Regions from separate parts of the Homo sapiens genome. Here all the other regions are linked to region 1. Evidence: promoter capture Hi-C in 16 types of primary human blood cells and fetal thymus (Javierre and others, 2016). All regions are on one chromosome and are shown on one strand. The core of a region is centred on a gene start or on the middle of the fragment in contact, and the rest is flanking DNA. Distances in the headings are between cores, read along the strand shown.

Region 1 (2,900 bases), core at 264-2,763:
CCGACCACTGCCACGCCTTCTCGGGACCTGGGGGCCGTCCTGCTGTTGCCCTCCGCCCCCGCCCGCGCCGCGGAGGTTTGAACCTTCGGCTCGCCTTTCAGCCCGCGCCCTGCCCCCTGCTCGCAGCTGCTCCCGGTTTGGGTGCAGCGGTTTCCCCCGCAGAGGAGGAGGAGGAGACAGCGCGAGGGAGCGACTCCGGGCTCGGGTTTCCGCACCAATGCCGAGCAGCCCCGGGCGGCCCCCGGTGGCCGTCCCTCCTCCCCGGCACCACGTTCCACAGTCATGGCGCGCGAGGAGGGGCGAGCGCGCGCGGCGGCTGCACCCGCGCCCCCTCTCCTCCCCTCCCCTCCGCCGCCCGGCCCCTCTCCTAGGCAACCCCCCTCCCCGGCCTGCTGCGCCTGCCGCGGCAAGGGAGACCCCTCCCCAGAGAGCTGCTCTTCCAGCGCGGTCTACTGCACCCCTTCCCCGCCCCCATCGGGGCGGAGGGATGGAGACGCGCGCTTCGCGAACCTCCAGCCCCTTCTCCGGAGCCCCAGCCCTCTCCCAGCCCCACCGAGGCCAGGGTGCGGTGGGGGTAGGCGCGGACCGTCTCCTCGCAGCCCGCCTCGACCTCGGCATCTTTGCAAACACTTAGAAAAATAAACAAACCCCCTCACAAACCCCAGTCGTTAGCTTGCAAAGCGTGTTACAATAACCGGGACGGCTACGCAGGAAGCAATCCTGCACTGGTCCGGGTTTAAGGCGGCAGCTTCCCGGCCACGCTGCCTTCTCCCCGGCCTCGATTTTCCGGCCATGCCGGAGGGTCCGCTGCACCTCAGGGCTGACAGGTCCCGCTCGCGCAGGGCCGCAACTGGGCCCGTGTCCCCCGTCCCATCCTCGTCCAGAGACTCGCCAGCCTACAAAAGGTGCAACCTCACGCACACGCAAAGCGCACAAATAAAGTCAGCAGCGCACCGCCGCGAAGGCTGCGAACAATGCGCCGGGCGGCCCGCGCCCGCCGTAGCGCTGCGCCCCGGGGGAAAGGGGACGCGGGCGGGGGCCGAGGCGGACGACCAGCCGGTCGCGGCGCTGGACACCTTACTTCCTGCTTCCCCGCCCGCGGCCAGACCCAGCTCTGCGGAGGGATATCTCCCCTCCTCGGTCCCTCTCCCTCCCTTCCCCCTCCCTTCCCCCGCCCTCCCCCTCTTTTTGCTCCTGCTCCCCCCCCCCACCCCGCCTTTCTCCTTTTGCAAGAAAATAATTTGACAGTCGATTTGCTGACAAGGGAGGAATTTGCATCCTGGATTTAAAAAAAAAAAAAAGGCCGAGAGGAGCTTGGGAACGGTTGCTAGGGGTGGGTAATGGGTGAAAAAAGGGGGGTACCGGGGAGCGGATAAGGAGGGTTAAGGGAGGGGGCGAGGATGGGGAGCAATGCAAAGGTAAGGCCAGGTTACCGCGGCTCGGCCCCGAGTGGGCTGCGACCGGGGGAGGGGCGAGAGATACATATGTATTTCTGTCTCCCCAGCACACCCCCTTCCCTCTAAGCGATGGCTGAGAGGCGGTGCATGCAGATGGGGAGTAAGTTTCCTGAAGGGGAGGGTGGATGCACGCGCGCAGCCCGGCGCTGCAAATTTCCACTGGGGAGGGAGAACGGCTGGATGCGGAGAGTTTGGAGTTGCTTGCGGCGGAGGGCAGGAAGGGGAGCAGGGCTGGGAAAGGGGGCTGGCGGGCGCTATATCTGGGAGTAAGTTTCCAGCATCAGGAGAGCCTGCACGCTTGCTCACTAGTAAGTTTCTGGCCGGGGAGGGCGCATGGGGAGGAGGAGAGGGAGGGGTGCATGTATATAGAAGGGGGGAGGGGGGAGCAGATTTCCTGCGGGGAGGCTGAATGCATATGGAGAGTAGATTTCCTGAAGGGAGGGTGGAGGCGTAGACGGACCGAGTAAGTTTCTTGCTGGGGTGGTGGAGGAGGTGGTGGGTTGGTGCTTTGGAAACCCAAAGCTTCCTACCCTGGGTGGGGGAGCACACTCTTGTCGGGGGGACGAGGGGCCAGGTTCCCTGCTGGGGAGAGGGGCTTGCATCTGGGGAGTATGTTTCCTGGCGGAGCGATATTTGTTTACAGGCTGAGGGCAGTACAGTAAGTGAGTAGCGCTGAGAGAAGGCGGCTGACATAAATTAATATTGAAATTACTCCATCAGCTCTGCTCGCCCCCCATCTCACCCCCCAAGCGGATACTGGTCTTCTCGTCGGATTGCCCATGCACTTGTTGCAGAAACAGCCAAGGTAGGCAAGAAGCTTATTAAGTTTCATTTTTAAAAAATTAGTTTGGGGATGCTCCTCGAGAAGACGGGGGTGGGGCGAAGTGGGGAGGGAAGAGTGGGGAGACAGAAGGAGAAGTCTCCCCCCCCTTTACTTTCACTATGCAAGCAGGCCTTCTCCCTTCTTCCCTTCTTCCCTCTCCGGGCTGCACAGCATCCCAGCAAAGGGGGAGGGATGAGGTGGGCGCTATAATTGGCAACCCTGGCTTAAAGGTAGTGATGGTGGGCTTGCATTTGAGGTTGTGATGTTATAAAGGCTTCATTCTCCAGCTAAGAAACCGCAGGACTCTGCCTTTTGGGGTTTTTGACATGATACATATGTGTATGTATACGCGCCTGCGGGCTCTGTGGGGGCTGGGTACTCCCCAGAAGTTAGTGTGGCCACCCAGATGGGAGAAATGTGTAAGGGGGTAAACCTGTTCCTTCACTCCCCAACTTCAGTTTGGGAGACTGGGAAGTTACTGCCGGTGGTCTTAAGAAACAGATATTAAAAACCAACCAAACCACTCCTTCACCAGCGGAGGCCGAGAGCACCTGGCAGGCAGCCTCTGGCCAGCACTGGACTGGAGCATGTGCGCCTGCCATCCTTAGGTTACAAGAAAA
Region 2 (2,900 bases), core at 295-2,794, 220 kb after region 1:
CTTCTAAATTCTACACACCTCTCTTTCTTTATTTTTAGAGTCTTCTTCAAGATCAAAAGCCGAAATGCACACATGAAAACTCACAGGCAGCAGGAGGAACAACAGAGGCAAAAGGCTCAGAAGGCGGCTTTTGCAGCTGAGATGGCAGCCACGATTGAGAGGACTACGGGGCCCGTGGGGGCGCCGGGGCTGCTGCCCCTGGACCAGCTGAGTCTGATCAAACCCATCAAGGATGTGGACATCCTCGACGACGACGTCGTCCAGCAGTTGGGAGGTGTCATGGAAGAGGCTGAAGTTGTGGACACCGATCTTCTCTTGGATGATCAAGATTCAGTCTTGCTTCAGGGTGACGCAGAACTATAAAGCCCTGTGTGTCACTTAGAGACAGTGAAAACCCACGGCCTCCATCTTCATTAATCAGGAAACCTGGACTGCCTGCTTGTTTTGTAACCCTTTTAAACTACCTGTTTTAAAAGTGGTCATTTTATTCAGGTTTAGAAAAAAAAATCCTATTTCTTTTCCTTTTATTTAAAAAAATTTGTTTTTGTGGGGGGTTGGGGGAATAAATAATTGGCACAACTATCTTTAAGAGGTGTTTCATCTGGGCTACCTTCTCATGAAATCATTCCCAGTAGGGACTGAAGCTGACCTTCATGTTCCATTGCATTCAGATGTCAACCATCCCGGTTGCCTTTTATCCCAAAGCTTGCTGTGAGTGTGTGTGTGTGAGACGCAGGCGACCCTCTTAGTACTGGGGTCTTGGGGCCAACTTTTCCCATCAAGCGTTACTTTGATTCTGTTCTGACCTCATTCCATAGTTTGCAGTGAGCATGGCATCTTTGCCTGGAGATACTATGCTAGGGGCAGCTTTCCAGGGGCAAAGCAAGCCCTCGTGTTACACGGCTCTCCTCCAGCTCACACGACATGTGAGGAGATGACCAAATGTGAAAACAGGTTTCCCCTGTGTTGCCCGTCATCCTTTGGCCCGTTCACAGGAATGGAGTACTGTATAATTTTAGGCTTTCATTCCCAGCAGTGTTTACTGAGGACCTGGTTTTCTAGAACAGGTGTGTCCTGTCCTCTTCCATGTTCCCTGGGGGCTGGTCAGCTCCAAGTTGTGGGTGGCAGAGCTGTGTTTCAGCATGAACTGACTAGAGACCCATCTGGAGGCAAATATTAAGTTGCCAGGACTGCTTTCACTTCAGGGTGATTGAAGGACACATATTGAAGTACCTAGAATGCCAGAAAGTGTTCTATTGCCCAAAAAACAAATCAGAAAAGCCTATTCTTTTTTGCAACGCTGTTAATGATTAGTGGAGTTCTGAAATTACTTTGTGCCACTTGGAAGTACTGTGAAACCGCATTCACTGGGATTTTGCTGTAATTCACATCCGCTGGACTGAAGTTTACCTTGATGTTAGCTATAAGAAATAGTTTTCTAACACATACGATAGCAAATACAAGACAAATAGCATTGAAGGCCAACAAAAATGGCTTCAGATACACCTTAGCTATAATGTTTGCATTCAAACAATGAATGTATTCATCACAAGTCACTTACCAAAGCACTTCTAGACTTCTCCAACCTCCATGACTTTGCTCTGCTTCCTCCTGTCCCTGTCAGCAGGGTTGCTGTTTGTACTTGAAGGTAATAAACCTGTAATCCTTCAAAAATGCCATTTAGCCCCAGGCTTCTGAGCTGAGTCAGACTGACCCATCCCACCGTTAGGGCAAAAGTCAGGCTGGGACACAGCGCCAGTACAGAGAGGATCCTGCTTCATGCAACTCCCCTTTTGGAGTTAATGCAGCGTGATTTCCTGGGCCGGTGTTTTCAGGCATCGCCCACCCCAGGTATGCTGGTTCCCAGCTCCACGTAGGTGTGCCTATCACGCTGGGCCACTTTGCTGACAACATTCATAGCTTGACATGAGAGAGAATATCAGCAGAAGCATGAGAGTAGGACCTGACGTCTTTGACTCTGCAAAAGCATTTAGCACACACTCATGGGGGGGAACTGGCTGTGAGCCACAGCAGCCCCACACAGACAGTGGTCTCTGAACTTCAGGAAAGCCATGGACAGAAAAAAAAATAAAATTCTTTTCCATCATTCTATTTTCAAAGAGGTCTTGGCGTTTTCCTACATCTTTTGTTTAGAGGGGGAAAAAAGTTTCATTTGCTGCCATTTCAGAAAGGTTATGCTATCCTGTTTTATCCAAGCAGTTGTGAGTCAGGAACTGCCTGGGCAGTGTGCATCAACTTTGTGGCCGAACCATTACAGCTGTCATATCCTTGGCTGATCGTCTCTCCCAGGGACTACTGCCCTCCACTTAGTGTCTGAGGGTAAGCCTAGAAGGGTGCTGCTATTGGGTCTATGGAAGCTTATCTATCAAAGGAGCAAACATCCAGAAAAGTGTTTATAAAGCAAATGTATTGCCTCTGTTTAGAGATTTGCCCAGCTGTTCCAGTTTTAAACATTAAAAAATAAACTCAGTTGCCATGGCAAAAATAGAATGCACAGCTTACTTATAATTTTCCATGCAGTATAGCATAAGGATTTTTGACTTGAAACAACCAAAGAACTCCTCCTTAACGAGACAGTTCAAATTCCTGAATTAGTATTTCTTGACTATCAACTTAAAGAATGGACTTCCTAGTACAATGTTGCACTTATTTTTTTTTCTGAAATAATTCTGCCTGCATGTATGTGTTGTGTTTTAGCTTCTCCCCTTACCCCACCCCAAAGATCTTTTCTTCCTAATGGTTAATGTCTCAACTCGGTTACTGTTTACTATCAGATGGTTTTTCATTAGTGAATTTAGACCTCTTTGAGAAAGCTTGTATATAAAAAGTTAACAGATATATTTTATGGAAAAACCCATCTTATTTTCAAATATATTTAA
Region 3 (2,900 bases), core at 128-2,627, 200 kb after region 1:
GACACTAACACATGCACACACAGAGCACTATCATTTGCACCAAAGCACAAAGCCTAGGACTGTGCAGAAGAGCCACCTCTTACTGTCTTAAGACTGTGCTCCCTGACCCAGCCCTGTATCCCTTGGAATGGGAGAGTGACATAGAGGGGCAGGGAGAACATGCAGCCCACTCCATCTCAGGATGAGTTGTACAGAATGCACACTCCGGAATCAGGAAGCCACCAAATCCTATGACAGAGCAGCAGTCTTAAAAACCACCAGGAATCAGCAGGGAGAAGGTCTCCTTCCCCCACGAGGTTTGGGGATCTCTCCTAACAGATGGGCCAGGAAGTTACATCACCAGTGGAGTTGCATCTGGCAAGCAATTTGGAAACATGAAGGGACATGCTTCTCAGAAATCGACAGGCCTGGGAACTGAACACTGCTTTTGGGGCCAGAAATCAGGTAATGAGCCTGGTGGGTAGAAAAAAGTATATCCACTGCAGAGACTGGCTGAGAAGGCTGGATGGCCCTGTTAGTGTCTTGTCATGTCTCAGAGCTGCACTCTAACTTAGGAAACTGATGGTCTGGTTGAGGTTGGAAAGAATTATCATTGATCTAGTTGAGGGTTTCATCAGCAAAATGTCCCCTGATTCCCCATCGGAGATGCAGCTGAGGGCCACACGGATTCTGGACCTGCAGCAGGGCAGCAGAGCAACCTCTGTGTAAGCTTGTGTGAGTCAGCTGGTATGACAGACCGCCATTGTGGTCTTCCTTCCATCATTATCTTTCTGACTCCTCTTACCCGTTTGCTGTTTTGGTGGATACCTAAAAGGAACCATGACGGTTGTTTGGTTGTTGAACTGAATTGTTGGTGATTCCTTTCTGTGTCCTTCTTTCTACCTCTGTTCCTGGGTAAGGGGACCCCAAGGCTTTGAATGTTGGACAGAATTTGAAGAATGGTGATGGAAGTGATATAGAGCCTCAAATCCCACCAACCCCCTGTGCTCACATGCACTCCGGCAAGTATTCTCCAAACCCCCAGCCCCCCTGAGGCTCCGTGTTACTGTGGTCTGCACGGTCAGAGCTGTCCAGCCCTCTGGAACCCATGGAAGATGACTCCCTTCTGCTGAGTATTCATGGGAAAGCTGCTTTCCTTCTAGAAGTAAAGAGATAAGTTTGCAGCTGGGCACAGTGGCACACGTCTGTAATCCCAGCACTTTGGGAAGCTGAGGCAAGCGGATCACTTCAGGTCAGGAGCTAAGGCCAGCCTGGCCAACTTGGTGAATCCCCATCTCTGCTAAAAATACAAAAATTAGCCAGGTGTGGTGGCACGCACCTGTAATCTCATCTACTCAGGAGGCTGAGGCAAGACAATCACTTGAACCCAAGAGGCAGAGGTTGCAGTGAGCCGAGATCTCGCCACTGCACTCCAGCCTGGGTGACAGAGCAAGACTCCATCTCCAAAAAAAAAAAAGAAAAAGATAAGTTTGCAAACCAAATAAATTGGGTGGTGGCCCTGCTTTTGTAGATGTCTGACCCCGCCCAGCTGTGGAGAGCATATTCTGAGTCTGGAGCCAAAGCTCCTGGCTTGAGGACCCATCAAAGAGCTGCACAAGGAAGTTGTTTATTTCAGAAATGTGAGTTTATGTCACTGAGCCATATATTCTTCTAAGGACCCTAGGCTCCCCACCTGTGGTCTAAGGAGGCCCCTGCCTGCCCAGAGCATTTTTGCCTGATTCACTTATTTTGGCCAAACCCTACAAAGAAAGAGGCGATTAGGGTTTCCTGTACTGCAGTCCCATCAGTTGACCATAGCAAAATGGAAACCTTGGACTCGCCCGGAATGGGAGGAAAGATATTATGATTTGGGGTACTAGTGTACCCCACTAATGAAGTATAGTGAGGTAGGGTACTAGTGTACCCCACTAATGAAGTCTAGAGAAGTGTAGTGAGGTCAAAGCCTTGGCCAAATACCATCCAAAGAATCAGAGATGTGGAGAATTCAGCAGGCCAGAAGAATAAGACTGAGTTTTCTCTGAACCAGCCACAGTGGTGGAAGCTTCCCTAGAGCCTCCAGAAATAGGAGTCCCCTTAGAAGTAGGCCTTATTTCTTGCCCCAAACAAGCCAGTATAACTTTATATTATTATCTGCATATCGTGCTTTCTTTCATGGAGGAAAAAGACATAAATATCAGGTTTAGCCAGTAAGGAAGATGCACCAGCCCAGCAGTGAAGCCTCTCCCTCTTCGGTCGGCAAATCTGTCAAGAACTGGCTCCACTCACCTCTCCAGCCTCATCTGCTTCTGCTGGAACCTTATACTTGAACCAGATTAGATTACTAGTCGTTCTTTGAAAACCTCCATTTCCTCATTTGTCAAATGGGCTCATCATCCTAACAATCTTACAGGATTGTTAGTAGAACCTAATGATGAATAACTGAAGTACTTAGAACCTGCCACTTAGTAAGCACTTAGAAATGTTAAGCTATTTTTCCTAGTACAGCATCTTGCTTGTAATATACACCTAATAAATATCTGTTGAATGAACAACTGAAGTGCATGACTTCACTCTTGCCTCTGACTTTGCACATCCTGCTTCCTCTCACCAGAATACTCTTCCATCTCCTTATGATCTGACTTGCTTCTATGTGACCTTTAAAACTCAACTCATGTTTTCTCTAGCTGGAAGCCCTCCTGGCTGCCCTGGCCCTAACCTGAGTGTGGTGTTTCTCCTTTGTGCCCCATTGGCACCTCGCCTCTACCTGAATAATTACAATTACCACCTTGAACGTCATGGCCTACTTGTTTGTCTCCCCAGTAGACTGTGAGCATCTTGAGGGTGGAGGGTGAATCCAGCCACACCCTGAAGGGTACTTGCTACATGAATGCTTGCACTTGTGAATATGATAATTACGTTAA
Region 4 (2,900 bases), core at 156-2,655, 190 kb after region 1:
ACGCACTGTCTGTGCCAAGCACTTGGAATACAAAATCAATCTCTATTAAGTCCTTTGGCCATGGAGCTTATAATCTACTAAGGAGATGGCCAGAGTACCACATCATGCCCTAAATGATTCACGTAATGGTCAAGACCTTGAGTCACATGCCAGGGGACCACACAGTGTTGGTGTCTCAGTTCCCTTGGATCTGTGTGCTCTGGATATGCTCTGTGACATTGGTCCCCCTTTGGGAGGGAGACCACGTTATGACAGCATTTCTCAAAGTATATTGCTCAGAACAGCCATTCCACAGTGTTTAATGGATATTGCTGGGGAAACAGTGGGTTCTCAGGATAAATACACCAGGGTTTTTGTTTTTATTTTTGTTTTTGTTTTTTTTGAGATGGAGTCTCACCCTGTAGCCCAGGCTGGAGTGCAATGGCGCCATCTCGGCTCACTGCAACCTCCCCCACCTCCTGGGTTCAAGTGATTCTCCTGCCTCAGCCTCCTAAGTAGCTGGAATTACAGGCACACACCACCACACCCAGCTAAGTTTTTGTATTTTTAGTAGAGACAAGGTTTCACCATGTTGGTCAGGCTGGTCTCAAACTCCGACCTCATGATGCGCCTGCCTTACCTTCCCAAAGTGCTGGGATTACAGGTGTGAGCCACTGTGCCTGGCCCCTTTTTTCTTTTTTTAGACAGGGTCTTGCTCTGTCACCCAGGCTGGAATGCAGTGATGCAGTCATAGCTCACTGCATCCTTGAACTCCTGGGCTCAAACGATCCTCCCACTTCACCCTCCCACATAGCTAGAACTACAGGTGCATGCCACCTGGGCCTGAGCACTTTCTTTGGTTTGGTTTTGTTTTGTAGAGACAGGTCTCCCTATGTTGCCCAGGCTGCTCTTGAACTCCTGGCCTCAGGCGATCCTCCTGCTTTAGCCTCCCAAAGTGAAACAGGGTGCTGTACTGCAGGACTTTTTGTGACCTTTAATATGGTAGTATGCATTGTGAGTCTCGCAGATACCATGTGTGATTGTGGAGATGAAAACCTTAGCTGCCCACATGATCCAGGCTGGGAAAGTAAATAAGCAAAACTGTCTGGTATGAGACATTAGGCAGTGGTGGTGACTGTGAACTAGAGAGCAGATGCCCCATCCCATAGCATTCTCATTAAGGGTTTTTAAAAAACAGTCTAGCCAAACAAACATGTCTGCAGGCCGGTTCATCTTGTGCACCATGATTAACCCTTGATTTGTTCCCAAAAATATTTGACCAGAAAACAGCCTACTATGTGCTGGGCACTTTTCATGCCTTGGCTTATTCCAAGGCATACAGTCACATGACAGCAGTGTCTGAGGAGGAGGTGACCCCAAATGGGAACTGGTTGGATAGAAAGAAAGTTCTGATGGAGGTTGAAGGCCAGAGATGAACTTCCCCTTGAGTTTGTTTTGTCTGGGGTTCAGAACCAGTGGTAACTGAGAGCCTTTGTAAATATAAGAATGAGATGATTTGGCTAAGGCTTTTTAAGAAGAATTCCAGGGCCAGATATGGTGGTTCACACCTATAATCCAAGCACTTTGGAAGGCCAAGACAGGAGGATCACTTGAGCCCAGGAGTTCGAGACCAGCCTAAGCAACATAGCGAGACCTTGCCTCTACAAAAAATCAAAAATTTAGCTGGGTGTTGTGGCGCACACCTGTAGTCCCAGCTACTTGGGAGGCTGAGGCAGGAGGATTGCTTAAGTCCAGGTGGTGGAGGCTGCAGTGAGCCATGATCATGCTACTGCACTACAGCCTGGGTGACAGAGCAAGACCCTGTCTCAAAAAAAAAAAAAAAAAAGAATTCCATCAGGGGGTCTCCTGGCATAATGCTGCGTCTCCCACCTCTTTCTTCTGTGTCCCTTATGGGAATGGAGTCTGTCTGTGCACAGAGTGGGTGCCCTGGGAGAACAGGAAAAAACACGGTGGGGGAGTTGCATCCTGGTGGGCTTGTTGTGGCTGGCAGCAGCTCCAGGAGTGGGGCGGTGGTCCCAAGTCAAGGAGCAATTCAGGGACAGAAGTCAATTGCAGAAGAGTGAGGGAGTGAGTGGACATGAATGGGGTCAGCACGAAGCAGACAGCAGAAAGAGTCCTGGAAGAGTACCTGGTGTTCCCACTGCTCGAGGACTTCTCCCTTCAGAACACGTTTTTTTCTCTTCTTTTTTTCGGTGTCCTGTTTGGCTCAAAATTAGATGCACCTACCTGATGGGAGAGCCCAGCCAGGGTCCCCTGAGTCAAGGTAGGATGAGTGGAACCTTGTTGGTATTTTGGGAGACGGGGAGGATTTTCTGGGGTGTCTCTCATGATTCATTTTTAAATTCCAAGTCATTCCTCAAAGAAGTGTGTAGAAATAATAATAGCAGCTGTTGTGTTTGAGTGCATACTATGGGCTAAGCACTAGGCATTATGTATAGTAAAGTAACCTATGAGGGTGGGTGTGATTACGATGTGCCTATACTCAGTAAGCACTCAATAATTGTTAGCTATTATGATTGTTACTTTACAGATGAGAAAACTGAGGCTCAAAGAGCTTAAGGTTACATATCAAGTAACAATGCTGGGATTGACTGCAAAGCCCATGTTCTGTCCACTGTGCATTCATTCAGTATTTATTGAGTGCCTACTGTGTGCCAAGCATAGAGCTAGGTTTTGAGAATGCAGCAGTGAACAGTACAGACTTGCTTCCTCATCCCATGGGCATGGTCAATAAAGATTTAGCCAAACCTGATAAACTGCTGAAGCGTGCAGTACGGCGGCTGCCCCAGGAACTTGCACAAATGTCTCTAAGTGGGGAGGCTTTTGGAGGAGCTGGGCTCAGGCTGACCCTGGAAGGGTAATAAGCTATCGTTCCCAAGTCAAAATCCATTGCCTGAAGC

Evidence for each region. The method cuts DNA at HindIII sites, captures the fragments that hold promoters and counts their contacts. A CHiCAGO score of 5 or more calls a contact.
Region 2: a contact is called between a fragment that was not itself captured here and the fragment with the promoter of TRERF1 in region 1, in 1 of 17 cell types (M1 macrophages). The highest score is 6.3, in M1 macrophages.
Region 3: a contact is called between a fragment that was not itself captured here and the fragment with the promoter of TRERF1 in region 1, in 3 of 17 cell types (M0 macrophages, M1 macrophages and M2 macrophages). The highest score is 8.3, in M0 macrophages.
Region 4: a fragment that was not itself captured here is called in contact with the fragment with the promoter of TRERF1 in region 1 in 1 of 17 cell types (M0 macrophages); the score reaches 6.8 in M0 macrophages.

The regions. Positions count from the first base shown.
Region 1 is chr6:42,450,539-42,453,438 of GRCh38, reverse strand. TRERF1 (transcriptional regulating factor 1) reads left to right here and starts at 1,513. Exons shown (of 18, transcript NM_001395490.1): 1 at 1,513-1,765; 2 at 2,178-2,262. It overlaps LOC124900214 (arf-GAP with GTPase, ANK repeat and PH domain-containing protein 2-like), which reads right to left and starts at 1,079. Exons shown (of 4, transcript XM_047419627.1): 1 at 1-1,079. The coding sequence starts at 618. LOC107986596 (a long non-coding RNA gene) reads right to left here and starts at 1,079. Exons shown (of 5, transcript NR_171668.1): 1 at 814-1,079. RefSeq lists silencers at 59-498, 969-1,048. The HindIII fragment of the contact is 2,023 bases long and covers 1-1,981 here.
Region 2 is chr6:42,225,808-42,228,707 of GRCh38, reverse strand. TRERF1 (transcriptional regulating factor 1) reads left to right here. Exons shown (of 18, transcript NM_001395490.1): 18 at 39-2,900. The coding sequence ends at 363. All of the region lies in intron 1 of LOC105375061 (a long non-coding RNA gene), which reads right to left. Among named protein-coding and RNA genes, the nearest start is that of MRPS10, 9.4 kb to the right of the region's middle. The HindIII fragment of the contact is 1,673 bases long and covers 708-2,380 here.
Region 3 is chr6:42,246,914-42,249,813 of GRCh38, reverse strand. All of the region lies in intron 13 of TRERF1 (transcriptional regulating factor 1), which reads left to right. Among named protein-coding and RNA genes, the nearest start is that of MRPS10, 31 kb to the right of the region's middle. The HindIII fragment of the contact is 1,332 bases long and covers 712-2,043 here.
Region 4 is chr6:42,265,114-42,268,013 of GRCh38, reverse strand. It overlaps TRERF1 (transcriptional regulating factor 1), which reads left to right. Exons shown (of 18, transcript NM_001395490.1): 6 at 2,217-2,263. Among named protein-coding and RNA genes, the nearest start is that of MRPS10, 49 kb to the right of the region's middle. The HindIII fragment of the contact is 5,156 bases long and covers 1-2,900 here.